Linked DNA regions of Homo sapiens: all the other regions are linked to region 3. The links are contacts of gene promoters, found by promoter capture Hi-C in human tissues and cell types (Jung and others, 2019). All regions are on one chromosome and are shown on one strand. Each heading gives the region's core, a stretch centred on a gene start or on the middle of the fragment in contact. The rest is flanking DNA. Distances are from core to core; before and after follow the strand shown.

What was found. The method cuts DNA at HindIII sites, captures the fragments that hold promoters and counts their contacts. A contact is called where the count stands out against the background at its distance.
Region 1: the fragment with the promoter of OR1I1 here is called in contact with the fragment with the promoter of RAB8A in region 3 in 1 of the 25 tissues and cell types used here (heart left ventricle).
Region 2: the fragment with the promoter of NDUFB7 here is called in contact with the fragment with the promoter of RAB8A in region 3 in 2 of the 25 tissues and cell types used here (H1 embryonic stem cells and dorsolateral prefrontal cortex).

Annotation. Positions count from the first base shown.
Region 1 is chr19:15,079,095-15,083,674 of GRCh38, forward strand. It overlaps OR1I1 (olfactory receptor family 1 subfamily I member 1), which reads left to right and starts at 3,117. Exons shown (of 2, transcript NM_001004713.2): 1 at 3,117-3,182. The HindIII fragment of the contact is 16,029 bases long and covers 1,126-4,580 here.
Region 2 is chr19:14,570,584-14,574,834 of GRCh38, forward strand. It overlaps NDUFB7 (NADH:ubiquinone oxidoreductase subunit B7), which reads right to left and starts at 1,483. Exons shown (of 3, transcript NM_004146.6): 1 at 1,306-1,483. The coding sequence starts at 1,417. RefSeq lists an enhancer at 1,415-1,704. The HindIII fragment of the contact is 12,939 bases long and covers 1-4,251 here.
Region 3 is chr19:16,109,016-16,113,463 of GRCh38, forward strand. It overlaps RAB8A (RAB8A, member RAS oncogene family), which reads left to right and starts at 2,874. Exons shown (of 8, transcript NM_005370.5): 1 at 2,874-3,010. The coding sequence starts at 2,887. RefSeq lists a silencer at 2,257-2,916. The HindIII fragment of the contact is 16,619 bases long and covers 1-4,448 here.

The sequences.
Region 1 (4,580 bases), core at 1,867-4,366, 1.0 Mb before region 3:
CATGTATGTTTATTGCAGCACTATTCACAATAGCAAAGACTTAGAACCAACCCAAATGCCCATCAGTGATAGACTGGATAAAGAAAATGTGGCACATACACACCATGGAATACTCTCCAGCCATAAAAAACAATGAGTTCATGTCCTTTGCAGGAAAATGGATGAAGCTGGAAACCATCATTCTCAGCAAACTAACACAGGAACAGAAAACCAAACACCACATGTTCTCACTCATAAGTGGGAGTTGAACAATGAGAACACATGGACACAGGGAAGGGAACATCACACACCACGGCCTGTCAGGTGGTGTGGGGCAAGGGAAGGAAGAGCATTAGGACAAATATCTAATGCACGCAGGGCTTAAAACCTAGATGATGGGTTGATAGGTGCAGCAAACCACCATGGCACATGTATACTTACGTAACAAACCTGCACGTTCAGCACATGTATCCCAGAACTTAAATTAAAATAATAAATAACTAAGTACATATAAAAATTTAAAAGACTGTCCGTTCTACTTGACCACTGCCACATCAGGAGCCCTTGACCCTTGCCAGAATTCAGGAATCCCCATCTCTCCTAGATTCTAATCAAGGAAGAAAATCAGGGACTATATAAAAACCTTTTAGGTGTTGGATTTTAAAAAAAGCATTTGTGCTTGGAAGAATGGGTGGAGAGTGGCTGAAGCCCAAGATGCTGAGAGAAGAAATCTGGACCTCACTCCTAGAGAGGATAGAATGAAGTAGACCACCCCCTTCTTCCTCCCTCCCAATGTTCATTGATGGTTTCCTGGTACCAGACTCATTGCCACATAAAGACTCTAAGATTTTCCCAAAGCAATCAGCACTGGACTCCAAACCAACATGACTAGAAAACTGGACTCTGGGAGTGTATAACTGGCCCTGCCTTATACCAATTTCCCAGGGGGGGAAATGTTATTTTTGATAACATTTTCTATAGAGTCATATCAAAAAGAAAGGCTTTTTTCTTCCTGAATATATCTTTTATTCCTCCTTATCTCTCTTCACTCTTCCTTCTATAACTGGTTTCAGAATTCCCAGGAGAGTTCGGATGGGAGACACCAATGTCCTACCTACCATGGCTTTGGGCAAAATAATTTTTTTTCAGAACCACGGACAGTGGCAAAAGTTTGTTCACCCAGTGGGACTTTTTTTTTTTTTTTTTTTTGAGATGGAGTCTTGCTCTGTCACCCAGGCTGGAGTGCAGTGGCACAATCTCGGCTCACTGCAATCTTCGCCTCCCAGGTTCAAGTGATTCTCCTGCCTCAGCCTCCCAAGTAGCTAGGATTACAGATGCCCACCCACCATGCCCAGCTAATTTTTGTACTTTTAGTAGAGACTGGGTTTCACCATTTTTCCCAGGCTGGTCTCGAACTCCCGACCTCAAGTGATCCACCCGCCTCAGCCTCCCAAAGTGCTGGGATTACAGGTGTGAGCCACCATGTCTGGCCACCTTATGGACTTTTTAGGTGGGTTTTTCCCCAACCTTTGGGCTCAAATTGATTTTTTTTTTTTTTTTGAGACAAGGTCTCACTCTGTCACCCAGGCTGGAGTGCAGTGGCATGATCTCAACTTGCTGCAAACTTCACCTCCCGGGCTCAAGGGATCCTCCCACCTCAGCCTCCTGAGTAGTTGGGACTATAGGCACGTCCAGCTAATTTTGTATTTTTAGTAGAGACAGGGTTTCACCATGTTGGCCGGGCTGGTCTCAAACTCCTGAGCTAAATTGATCCACCTGCCTCGGCCTCCCAAAGTGCTAGGATTACAGGTGTGAACCACCATGCCCAGCCTCTGAAAATAATTTTAATTTTAAAAAAATAATGACAGTGGGATTGGCACCTACTCATATCCCCATATGTCCAACGCGAAGTTGGTCTACCTTGTTCTTGCTTTGAAGCTGACCTCCCCACAGAGTTACGATCCAAGAGCCAACAGTCCAACAGCCAATATTATTAGGGAAAGTAATTCTAATATTTACTAAAGCCCCTAGGAGAATTTCAACAAGTATCCTACACACGTTCTGTGTGGCTGATAGGAAGGATTTTTTTTTTAAGAGACAGGGTCTCACTCCGTTGTCCAGGTTGGAATGCAGTGGTGCGATCACAGCTCACTGCAGCCTCAACCTCCAGGGCTCAAGTGATCCTCCCACCTCAGCCTCCTGGGTAACTGAGACCACGGGCATGTGCCACCAATCCTGGCTAATTTTTTTAAATTTTTTGTAGATATAAGGTCTTGCTGTTTTGCCCAAGCTGGTCTCAAACTTCTAGGCTCAAGGGATTCTCCAACCTTGGCCTCCCAAGTAGCTAGGATTATAGGCATGAGCCACCGTGTCCAACTCCAGTGCCAAGCAGGTGATCAAGAAGTGTTTGATAGGCCGGGTACAGTGGCTCAGGCCTGTAATCCCAGCACTTTGGGAGACCGAGGAGAGCAGATCACTTGAGGTTTGAGATCAGTCTTTCCAACATGGTGAAACCCTGTCTCTACTAAAAATACAAAGACTAGCTGGGCATGGTGGTGGGCACCAGTAATTCCAGCTACTCAAGAGGCTGAGGAGGGAGAATTGCTAGAACCCAGGAGGTGGAGGTTGCAGTGAGCCGAGATTGCTCCACTGTGCTCCAGGCTGGGTGAAAGAGTGACACTCCATCTCAAAAAAAAGTGTTTGATAAATTTATTTATTTAATACCGATTTATTGATTGATTGATACTCTTCGGAGCTTTCCTTAATGAGCCAGTTTCTTCCATAATGCAATGAATGAAAGGACCTCTCAGATTCAGGCATCTGAGTGCCCGACTGGAGTCTGGGACCCCCCAGACCTCTCTGCCTGGGAGCTTCCATGAAGCTCAGCCTGAGCTGGAAGGAGACCGTAGGGAGATGTCCTAGTGAGAGTGAATCCCTAGTCACTGTTTCCTCTTCTTACCCACTCGATGATCCCAAAGCACACCCATCTCCAAAAGAACAGGTCACATGTGGCAGAGGAGAAACAAAATAATTAGCATCCGCTTCCTTAACAAGGAGCTATGGGGACGAAGTCTCCTAGAGTCCCCAGACTATAAATACCCTGATGTTCCCCTGGCTCCCCCACTCACCTGCAGAGTCTGGGGGCGGGGGGGTACACATATGAATCCTTCCCATAGACATCAGGCTAACCCCAGCGATCACAGGTGAGTAGCCCCCATGCCCTTCCTAGGGGTTTAGTGCTGACCTCGGGATCCTCTAGCAGTTGGTGGAGAAGGAGGCTTCCCGGGACCCTCCCCTTGGTGATGCCATCCTGGTGAGCAGGTGAGGGATGGGGAAAGGATTGAGCTGAGGGTGGGGGTGGAGGGTTGTGGGAGAGGAATCTGTCTCCTTCCTAGAGGCCGAGAGAGAGAGAAGAGACTGAGACCAAGTCTAGACTCTCTGAGTGGACAAAGCACGCAGACGGCAGACCCTCTGTGGCAGGATATGTGGAGGAAAAGCACTGAGGGTCTGCAGCTGCAGGACACCTGCACAGATAGGAGAGGTCTTGAGAAACAAGTTTCTCCAATGCAGCAGCTCCCCAAGTGTGGTCCCTGGGCTAGAAGCACCAGCATCCTCTGGAAACTATCTAGAAGTGCTGGTTCTTACACCAGACATTTCAGGGAAAGGGCTTAGCTTTTTGTGTATGATGAGTTTGGGAGCGGGGGGGAGGGGGCGGGGGGATTGTTTTGTTTGTTTGTTTGTTCTTTCTGTTTTTGAGACAGGGTCTCGCTCTGTTGCCCAGTCTGGAGTGCAGTGGCATTATCATAGCTCATCGCAGCCTCGACCTCCCAAGCTCAAGTGATCCTCCCTCCTCAGCCTCCCGGGTACCTGGGATAACAGACATATACCACCATGCCTGGCTAATTTTATTTTCGTAGAGGCAGGGATCTTCCTATGTTGCCCAGGATGGTCTCACACTCCCGGGCTCAAGAGATCCTCCTACCTTGGCCCCCCAAGCAGCTGGGACTAACAGGTGTGTGCCACCATGTCCAGCTAATTTTTTATTTTGTAGAGATGGGGGTCTCACTGTGTTGCCCAGGTTGGTCTCTAACTCCTGGACTCAAGGGATTCTCCCACCTCAGCCTTCTGAGTAGCTGGGACTATGGAAGCATGCCACCATGCCCAGCAGATTGTTTTATTTTTTGTAGATCCAGGGCGGGATTGGGGGTGGGGTGGCCTCACTTTGTCTGCCAGGCTGGTCTTGAACTCCTGGCCTCAAGCAATTCTCCCACTTCAGCCTCCCAAAGTGCTGGGATTACAGGTGTGAGCCACCATGCCTGGCCCGCTTTTTGTGTTTTAACAAGCCTTCCAGGTGACCCTGAAGCGTGCTCAAGGTTGAGAACCGCTGCTCTATGCAACCCAAGTCAACAACTGAGGACTGTTACAAATATGTTGCCAGGAAGGGAATCGCAGTATTCTATCCAGCCTAGAGAAAACCAAGCATTGCATTGCAAAAACCTCAAGTCCAACACTAAAAAGCCTCAAAAAGTTAACATAGGGCTTTGCTGAAGGCCTCTTGGGGTTACCAAGGAGATTATGCTGCTAACCTTCCTAAAAACCCC
Region 2 (4,251 bases), core at 233-2,732, 1.5 Mb before region 3:
GCCTTAGCCTCCCAAAGTGCTGGGATTACAGGCATGAGCCACCACGACCGGCCACCCTTCACGTCTTTGTTTCCAGCCACTGCCTCTTGGAAGCCTGCTTTGACACCCCCAGCTCTGCCTGATTCCACAATCTTTCCCACTGTGCTGAGTTCTCTGGAGACAGTGCCTGCATCCCTCCAGTTCCCTGCTGTATCCGCGGTGCCTAATGTGGGACGTGGCCCAGAGCTGGTGCTCGGTATGCCTGTGATATTACTACATTAAAAGCAAAAACAAACACACGAACCAAAAAACCATCCTGGGCGTAGTGGCTCACATCTTCAATCCCAGCACTTTGGGAGGCTGGGCAGAAGGATCGTTTGAGCCCAGGAGTTTGAGACCAGCCTGGGCAACACAGCAAGACCCCCAACTCTACAAAAAATAAAAAATCAGTCTGGCATCCTGGGGCGCTCCTGTAGTCCCAGCTACTCGGGAGGCTGAGGCGGGAGGATCATTTGAGCCCAGGAGGTCGAGGATGCAATGAGCTGTGATTGTGCCACTACACTCAGCCTGGGCAACAGAGCAAGATCCCGTCTCAAAGCAAAACAAAGCACTTTGCAGGACAGTATTTGCAGCTCGAATCTTCCTTATTTCCTTGTGCATACCCCACAATTGCAGTGACATCAGGAAGGGGGTACAATGAACGTGTCCCTGCCCTCCCATGACTCCCCACGTCCCCCAAGACTTGGCCCGAGGCCGGGCGTGGTGACTGACTTCTGCGATCCCAGCACTTGGGGAGGCCGAGGCGGGCGGATCACTTGAGGTCAGGAGTTCAAGAGCAGCCTGGCCAACAAGGAGAAACCCCGTCTCTACTAACAATACAAAAAAGTAGCTGGGCATGGTGGTACACATCTGTAATCACAGCTACTCGCGAGGCTGAGGCAGGAGAATCGCTTGAACCCGGGAGGTGGAGGCTGCCAGTGAATCGAGACCAAGCCACTGCACTCCAGCCTGAAAGAAAAAGCGAGACTCCGTCTCAAAAGAAAAAAAAAAAAGACTCGACCCAGCTCTGCGCGTCGCATTCCTGCCCGAACCCCCACTTGTCGCCTCACTTTTGCTCCCTGGCTTTTGCTCAAGCCGTGCCCTTGGGCTGGAACGCCTCCACACTGAGGTGGGGTCATGCACGTCCTGTGGACTCCTAGTCTAGACCCAAACCCAGATACAACACCTGAGGTTAGAGCCCAGCCCTGGGGTGCCAGCCCTGGGGTGCCAGGTGTTCAGGCACCCGCGCCCCACGCCCTCTGGCTGCGCCTGCGCACTGGGCCTCACCGCGCTCCTTGCGTTCGGGGAAGCCGTAGTCTGGCGGGAAGGTTGGCATCTGCAGGGGGTCGGGCTCCACCGAGGCATCGCCCAGGTAGCGCCGGACCAGGTGGGCCCCCATGGCTGCAGTCGCTGCAGATCCCTGCAGCAGCCGAGGGTCACCTAGCTCCTACCCGGAACCACTGACCCCTCAGTCAGACACAGCTTCCGGGTCATTTAGGCAGCTGCGGAGATCATAGAGATGAAGGACTCCAGAGGATCGCTCCGGTCCGCCTGGCGTCACCTCGCGGACAGGCGGAGGCGGGACAGGTGCTGTGTCTCTTCGCAGGATATGGTTGGACCCGAGAGGGGACTTCCCTGAGCCTGGAAATCCATCTGGGCGGGGCAGAAGGGGACGGTGTGGGACTGAGGCCTCCCTCGACCCTATCTGGGGCTCTTCTGGTAGCCCGAGGCTAAAGCACATATTAAAATTATTTTTCATATCATTTTCCAAAAAGTTTTTTCTTTGAAAACATTCAAATTTCTCTTAAAAAAGGCACGATATCTATTATATCGTTAATGTATGTAATTTTGCATAAAGTCACTTTAAGAATTTTTTGTTTTTGGAGACACAGTACCTGTCGCCCAGACTGGAGTGTATTGGCGCGATCTCGGCTCACTGCAGCCTCCACCTCCTGGGCTCAAATTCTCTTGCCTCAGCCTCCTGAGTAGCTGGGATTACAGGCGCCCGCCACCACCCCCAGCTAATTTTTGTATTTTTAGTAGAGACGGGGTTTCGCCAGTTGGCCAGGCTGGTCTCGAACCCCTGACCTCAAGTGATTCCCCCGCCTCAGCCTCCCAAATTGCTGGGATTACGGGCATGAGCCACAGTGCCTGTCCAAGAAAGATTTTGATAAATTTAATTTAAATAAAAGTTATTCATAAATACAGTTATTATTATATTATTATTTTTTGAGATAGGGTCTCATTCTGTCGCCCAGGCTGGAGCACAGTGGCACAATCATAGCTCACTGCAACCTTGAACTCTTGGGCTCCAGGGATCCTCCCGCCTCAGCCTCTCAAAGTGTTGGGATTATGGGCGTAAGCCACTGTGCCTGGTCAAAAACAATTATTTAAAGCTGAAATTTCAAATAAATTATATATATATATGCAATCTTTATACAATTTTAAAATATATTAATATCTAATATTAATATCTAATATATATTTTTCCCCAGTCTGACAAAGCATGTATTAGGCATCTACTGTATGGTATGCTGGGTCCAGTGGTCAGACAGAAAGGCAGACGTGGTTCCTGTCTTTCAAGCTTACAGTCTAATGGAACAGAAAAACAGTCTAATGGAAAAAAAAAAATATGGGCCAGGGCAGTGGCTCACACCTGTAATCTCAGAGCTTTGGGAAGCTGAGATGGGAGGATCGCCTGAACTCAGGAGTTTGAGACCAGCCTGGGCAATATAGGGAGACTCTATCTCTACAAAAAAAAAAAAAAAAAAAAAAGCTGGGTGTGGTGGTGCACGCTTGTAGTCCCAGCTACTCGGGAGGCTGAGGCAGGAGGATAACTTGAGCCCAGGAGTTCCAGGCTGCAGTGAGCCGTGATCCCATCACTGCACTCCAGCCTAGGCAACAGAGTGAGACCCTGTCTATAAAAATTCCCAGGTGATGTGATGTTGCTGGTCTAGTGACCAGCTTTGGGAGAATTACTCAACTAGATCTTTATGTGTTGACATGGGGAAGTGGCTGCTGATATATTAAGTGAAAAAAGCAAGCTATTGAGAATAGACAACTGGCAATAGAGACTTTTCTTTTTCTTTCTTTTTTTTTTTTTTTTTTGAGACAGAGTTTCACTCTTGTTGCCCAGGCTGGAGTGCAGTGGTGTGATCTCGGCTCACCGCAACCTCCGCCTTCTGGTTTCAAGCGATTCTCCTGCCTTAGCCTCCTAAGTAGCTGGGATTACAGGTGGGTGCCATCACGGCCAGCTAATTTTTTTTTTTTTTTTTTTGAGACGGAGTCTTGCTCCGTTGCCCAGGCTGGAGTGCAGTGGCGCAATCTCGGCTCACTGCAAGCTCCGCCTCCCGGGTTCACGCCATTCTCCTGCCTCAGCCTGCCGAGTAGCTGGGACTACAAGCGCCCGCCACCACGCCCGGCTACTTTTTTTGTATTTTTAGTAGAGACGGGGTTTCACCGTGTTAGCCAGGATAGTCTTGATCTCCTGACCTTGTGATCCGCCCGCCTTGGCCTCCCAAATAATTTTTTTGTATTTTTAGTAGAGACGGAGTTTCATCATGTTGGCTAGGCTGGTCTTGAACTCCTGACCTCAGGTGATCCACCCGCTTCGGCCTCCCAAAGTGCAGGGATTACAGGCTTGAACCACTGCGTCCAGCTGAGACCTTCTTTCCAGGGCTACCTGTGTGACCTGTCCCTATCTCCAGGCCACCACATTAATCTGTGATTCTTGTGCCCTTCTAGACTCAAGGGGGCAGCATTCACATTGTGATCTCTATGAATGGTGCTTCTGGAGTTGTGCCGTGCACAGCCTGCACAGCTGCATCCAGTAACCCTGACGTGTTCTGGGCGTGTCTCCTTAATCTTCCTTTCTCTGTGCTTCAGCTGCTCACCCAGAGGTCAGAGCTCAAAGGGAGTCCAGAGAGGCAAATTACAGTACTAGCTCACTTTCCCTGTGTGACCCCCAGAAGTGACTTCATTTCTCGCAGACTGAGTTTACTCATCTGTAAGATGAGGTTTGTAATACCTATCTCATAATGTTCCCAGCCAGCGAGGGCTCCCCTCCTCCTGATGGATTCCACCCCTTTCCTGGCTTTATTTTTTTATTTTTTCAAGACAGGGTCTTGCTCTATTACCCAGGCTGGAGTGCAGTGTCATGATCTCGGCTCACTGCAGCCTCTGCCTCCTGGGCTCAGGCGACCCTCCTGCCTCAGCCTCCCGAGTAGCTGGGAT
Region 3 (4,448 bases), core at 1,624-4,123:
GAAGCTTGGCACTCTGAGTTCAGATACCAAATTCCCACTTTTAAGCAGGAAGGGGGAAAAGTCACTTAACCTCCTCTGGCTTCAGTTTTCTCACCATTAAACAGGAAAAAAACAATAACATCGTTTTGCTGGGCTGGTACTGGGATTAAAATTTTAAGAGTCAGGGGCCGGGTGCAGGGGCTCACGCCTGTAATCCCAGTACTTTGGGAGGTGGAGGCAGGCGGATCACGAGGTCAGGAGTTCGAGACCAGCCTGGCCAACACAGTGAAACCCCATCTCTACTAAAAATACAAAAAAATACACCACACCAGGCGTGGTGGTGGGTGCCTGGAATCCAAGCTACTTGGGAGGCTGAGGCAGGAGAATCGCCTGAACCCGGGAGGCAGAGGTTGCAGTGAGCCAAGATCGCGCCATTGCACTCCAGCCCTGGTGACCGTGAGAGACTCCATCTCAGAAAAAAAAAAAAGTCAGGGTCTTGCTCCGTCGCCCAGGCTGGAGTGCAATGGTGCGATCACAGCTCACTGCTGCCTTGACCTCCTGGGCTCAAGGGATCCTCCCACCTTAGCCTCCTGAGTAGCTGGGACTACAAGCATACACCACCATACCTGGCTAATTTTTTAAAAAAATTTTTTGTTTTTTGAGATGGAGCCTTGCTCTGTCACCCAGGCTGGAATGCAGTGACACAATCTCGGCTCACTGCAACCTCCGCCTCCCAGATTCAAGCAATTCTGGTGCCTCAGCCGCCTGAGTAGCTGGGACTACAGGCGCACATGACCACACCTGCCTAGTTTCTGTATTTTTAGCAGAGATGGTGTTTTACCATGTTGGCCAGGCTGGTCTGGAACTCCTGACCTCAGGTGATCCACCTGCCTTGGCCTCCCAAAGTGCTGGGATTACAGGTGTGAACCACCTCGCCTGGCCAAAAAACTTTTTTTTTTTTGCAGAGATGGAGGTCTTGCTATGTTGCCCAGGCTGGTCTCCACCTCCTGGCCTCCAATGAACCTCCACCTCAGCCTCCCAAAGTGCTGGGATTACAAGCGTGCACCATGACGCCCAGCTAATTTTATTTGTTGTAGAGATGGGGATCTCCCTATCTTGTCCGGGCTGGTCTTGACCTCCTAAGCTCAAGCAATCCTCCTGCCTCCCAAAGTGCTGACTCCCAAAGTGCTGGGATTACAGGCCTGAGCCACCACACCCAGCTGCAAGCCCGATTTTCCAAATGTATCTCTCCTCTGTTTTTCTCTTTCTTTTTTTTTTTTTTTTTTTTTTTGAGACGTAGTCTCATTCTGTCGCCCAGACTGGAGTGCAGTGGCGCGATCTCGGTTCACTGCAGGCTCCGCCTCCCGGGTTCACACCATTCTCCTGCCTCAGCCTCCCGAGTAGCTGGGACTACAGGCGCCCGCCACTACTCCCGGGTAATTTTTTGTGTTTTTAGTAGAGACGGGGTTTCACCGCGTTAGCCAGGATGGTCTCGATCTCCTGACCTCCTGATCCGCCCGCCTCGGCCTCCCAAAGTGCGGGATTACAGGCCTGAGCCACCGCGCCCAGCCTTTTTTTCTTTTGATAGGGTCTTGCTCTGTCGCCCAGGCCGAATTGCAGTGGGGCGATCACGGCTTACTGCACCCTCAACCTCCTGGCTTCCCAAAGCACTGGGATCACAGACGGGAGCCAACGCCCCGGCCAGTTTTTTCAACGTTGAGAGCCCTGGCCCCTAGATAGGACCCAGCATCCTCACTGCTCTAACCCCTCCCCCCCCACCATCCCCGGGCTGGCCCGGACAACCCCTAAGGTGGCCGAGGGCGGGCCCTGAGGAGGCCGGCGCGCGCTTCCGGGCACAGCTTGTGGCGGTGAAGCCGCTCAGATGGCGGAGGCCTTGGGTATCTCTAAGCAGATCGCTAGGCCGCAGACCTCGGAGCTCGTCTTGGGTCACTTTTATTTATTTTTTTTGAGACGGAGTCTCTCTCTGTCGCCCACGCTGCAGTGCAATGGCGCGATCTCGGCTCACTGCAAGCTCCGCCTCCCAGATTCAAGCAATTCTCTGCCTCAGCCTCCCGAGTGGCTGGGATTACAGGCGCCCGCCACCACGCCCGGCTAATTTTTGTATTTTTAGTAGAAACGGGGTTTCACCATCTTGGCCAGGCTGGTCTTGAACTCCTGACCTCGTGATCCACGCGCCTCGGCTTCCCAAAGTGTGGGAATTAAAGGCGTGAACCACCGCGTCCGGCTTGGGTCACTTTTCGAGTATACAGCTCCTCCTCTCTCCTTCCTCCCTAGGCCCCCACTGCCCCGACTCGCAGGCCGCAGACAAGGCTGAGAGCGCTACCTTGCTTTCCCGCGCTCGCCTCGGTGCCTACTGCGCCTGCGCGAGCTGTGAGGGCGGGACCCAGAGACACCCGCCCCAACTACTGGCGTGCGCCCTCTGCTGTCGCCTAACGGAACTCCGGGCGCGCGTGCGCACGCACCCCAAGCCACGCCCCGCCAGGCTGCCGGCGCGCGAGCGGTTGGCGCCGCTCCCTGCCTTCCCTCTCCTACAGTGGGGCGGGGCCGGGCCGCCCGAGTCGGGGGTGGAAGGCGGGGGCCACATAATGCCACGCCCCCGCCTCGTCCCCATTTGAAGCCCCGCGACTCTTCACTGCTGGTCAATCAGAGCCCGTGCTCTCCCTAGTGCCGGCCAATGGGAGGTGCGCTCGGGCTGCTTCCGGCTCCGCGCTCCGCTCGCCCCCTCCCAAGGTCTCCCCGCGACTGGCGGGACGCAGGGGCGGGCGTCGGCCGCGGTGACGCGCAGCGGGCCTGGAGCCAATAAGGGGCGGGCTCGGTGCTGATGGACGGTGCTGGTGGCCAGTGGAGAGGCGCTGGCCGCACTTCCCGTCGGGGAGAGAGTGTAATATGGCGAAGACCTACGATTACCTGTTCAAGCTGCTGCTGATCGGGGACTCGGGGGTGGGGAAGACCTGTGTCCTGTTCCGCTTCTCCGAGGACGCCTTCAACTCCACTTTTATCTCCACCATAGGTAACGGGACCGGGGAATGGCTGGGGGCGCCGGAGGCCCGGGCTGGGCGCGCCCCTGAGGGGCTGGGGCTGAGGGATCTACAGGGCTGGACGGGCCGAGGGCGCTGAGAGGGTCGAGGGGGCCTAAAGGGAGAAGAGCAGTCGCCTGCACCGCCGTTCGGGGGTTCCTGGGCCGTGGTGGGGGAGACCAGGTGCCCATTTTGCAGATAGGGAGACTGAGGCTCCGACCCTCAGCCCGCTCGTTAGGGCGTGTTATGTCTTGGGCTGGGGTCTTCGCGCCCGTCCTCTCGATCTGTCCTAGCAGCAGCCCTCGAAGCGGTTCTTTTGAGGCTCTTGCCTTACAGAAGTGGAAACTGAGTCATGGGGAATTGGCCATGGGAAAAAGACAGTGGCATCTCACCTTAATGAGCATTTACTATGTGCCAAGTGCTTCACGTGCATTTTCACACTCTTCAGTTCTTGGTGTTAAGTGCTGTTATGAGCCCGTCTGACAAGATGAGGAATCTGAGGCTCAGGGAGGGCATGGAACTTGCCCAAGGCCACACAGTCTGCACGTGGTGAGAATGGGATTTGATGGAATTTGAACCTGGCTGTGTCTCAACCCAAAACTCGAGGCTTAGCTCTCCTAGAGAGATGCCACTGCACACTCCCAGCTGATGACAAGCTCAGCTAATGCACCTTGGAGCCGGGACTCTAACCCACACCATTCCTGCTCTTTTCTCTGGAGCGTTCAGAGGTTGAGCCCCTCTCCCTGACCATGCTTCCCCTCATAAGCGTATTTTCCTCTAGAAGGAATGATAAGAAGAGTCAGGACCTTTTCCCTGCCCACCTTTCATCCTGCTCCAGGAATGACAGCAATGGCAAGTGACAGCACTGCCTGCCCTGGGACCTGTCATCCCCAAGAAGATGCAAGATAAAAGCCTCAGCGAGAAACTAAATCAGCCACTGCCACAGACAGCCTTGACTTCCCTATCAAAGGGCCCAAGACTCCAGCTGTCACTTTAGAACAGCTTTTCCTGTAGGGCCAGCCCACATTGTGGTTGAACAGAATTGGCTTGGTGCATCTCAGTTGTGATGTCCACAGAAGTGGAGCTGACCTCTCTCAGTGCCACAAAAGCAGTCCTGGCCCACAATGAAAAGGTTTGACCCAGGAGTAACACCTATTTGAGTGGCTTGTGAGCTCTGTAGCCCTGCTAGGGATGGGGAAAGTGGGGGAACGGTCACTAAGTCCAGGAGTTTATTCCGACTCAAGAAAACCTAGGGAATGGCCTTTGCTTTACTGTGTCACTTTGACAGAATCGTGTTATCTCCCTGAACCCCAAGATAATGTGCTAATTCCATTCTTGCCCTCCTCCAGGAGCTATGCTTTATTTATTTTATTTTATTTTATTTTTTGAGACGGAGTCTAGCTCTTTTGCCCAGGCTGGAATCCAGCGGCA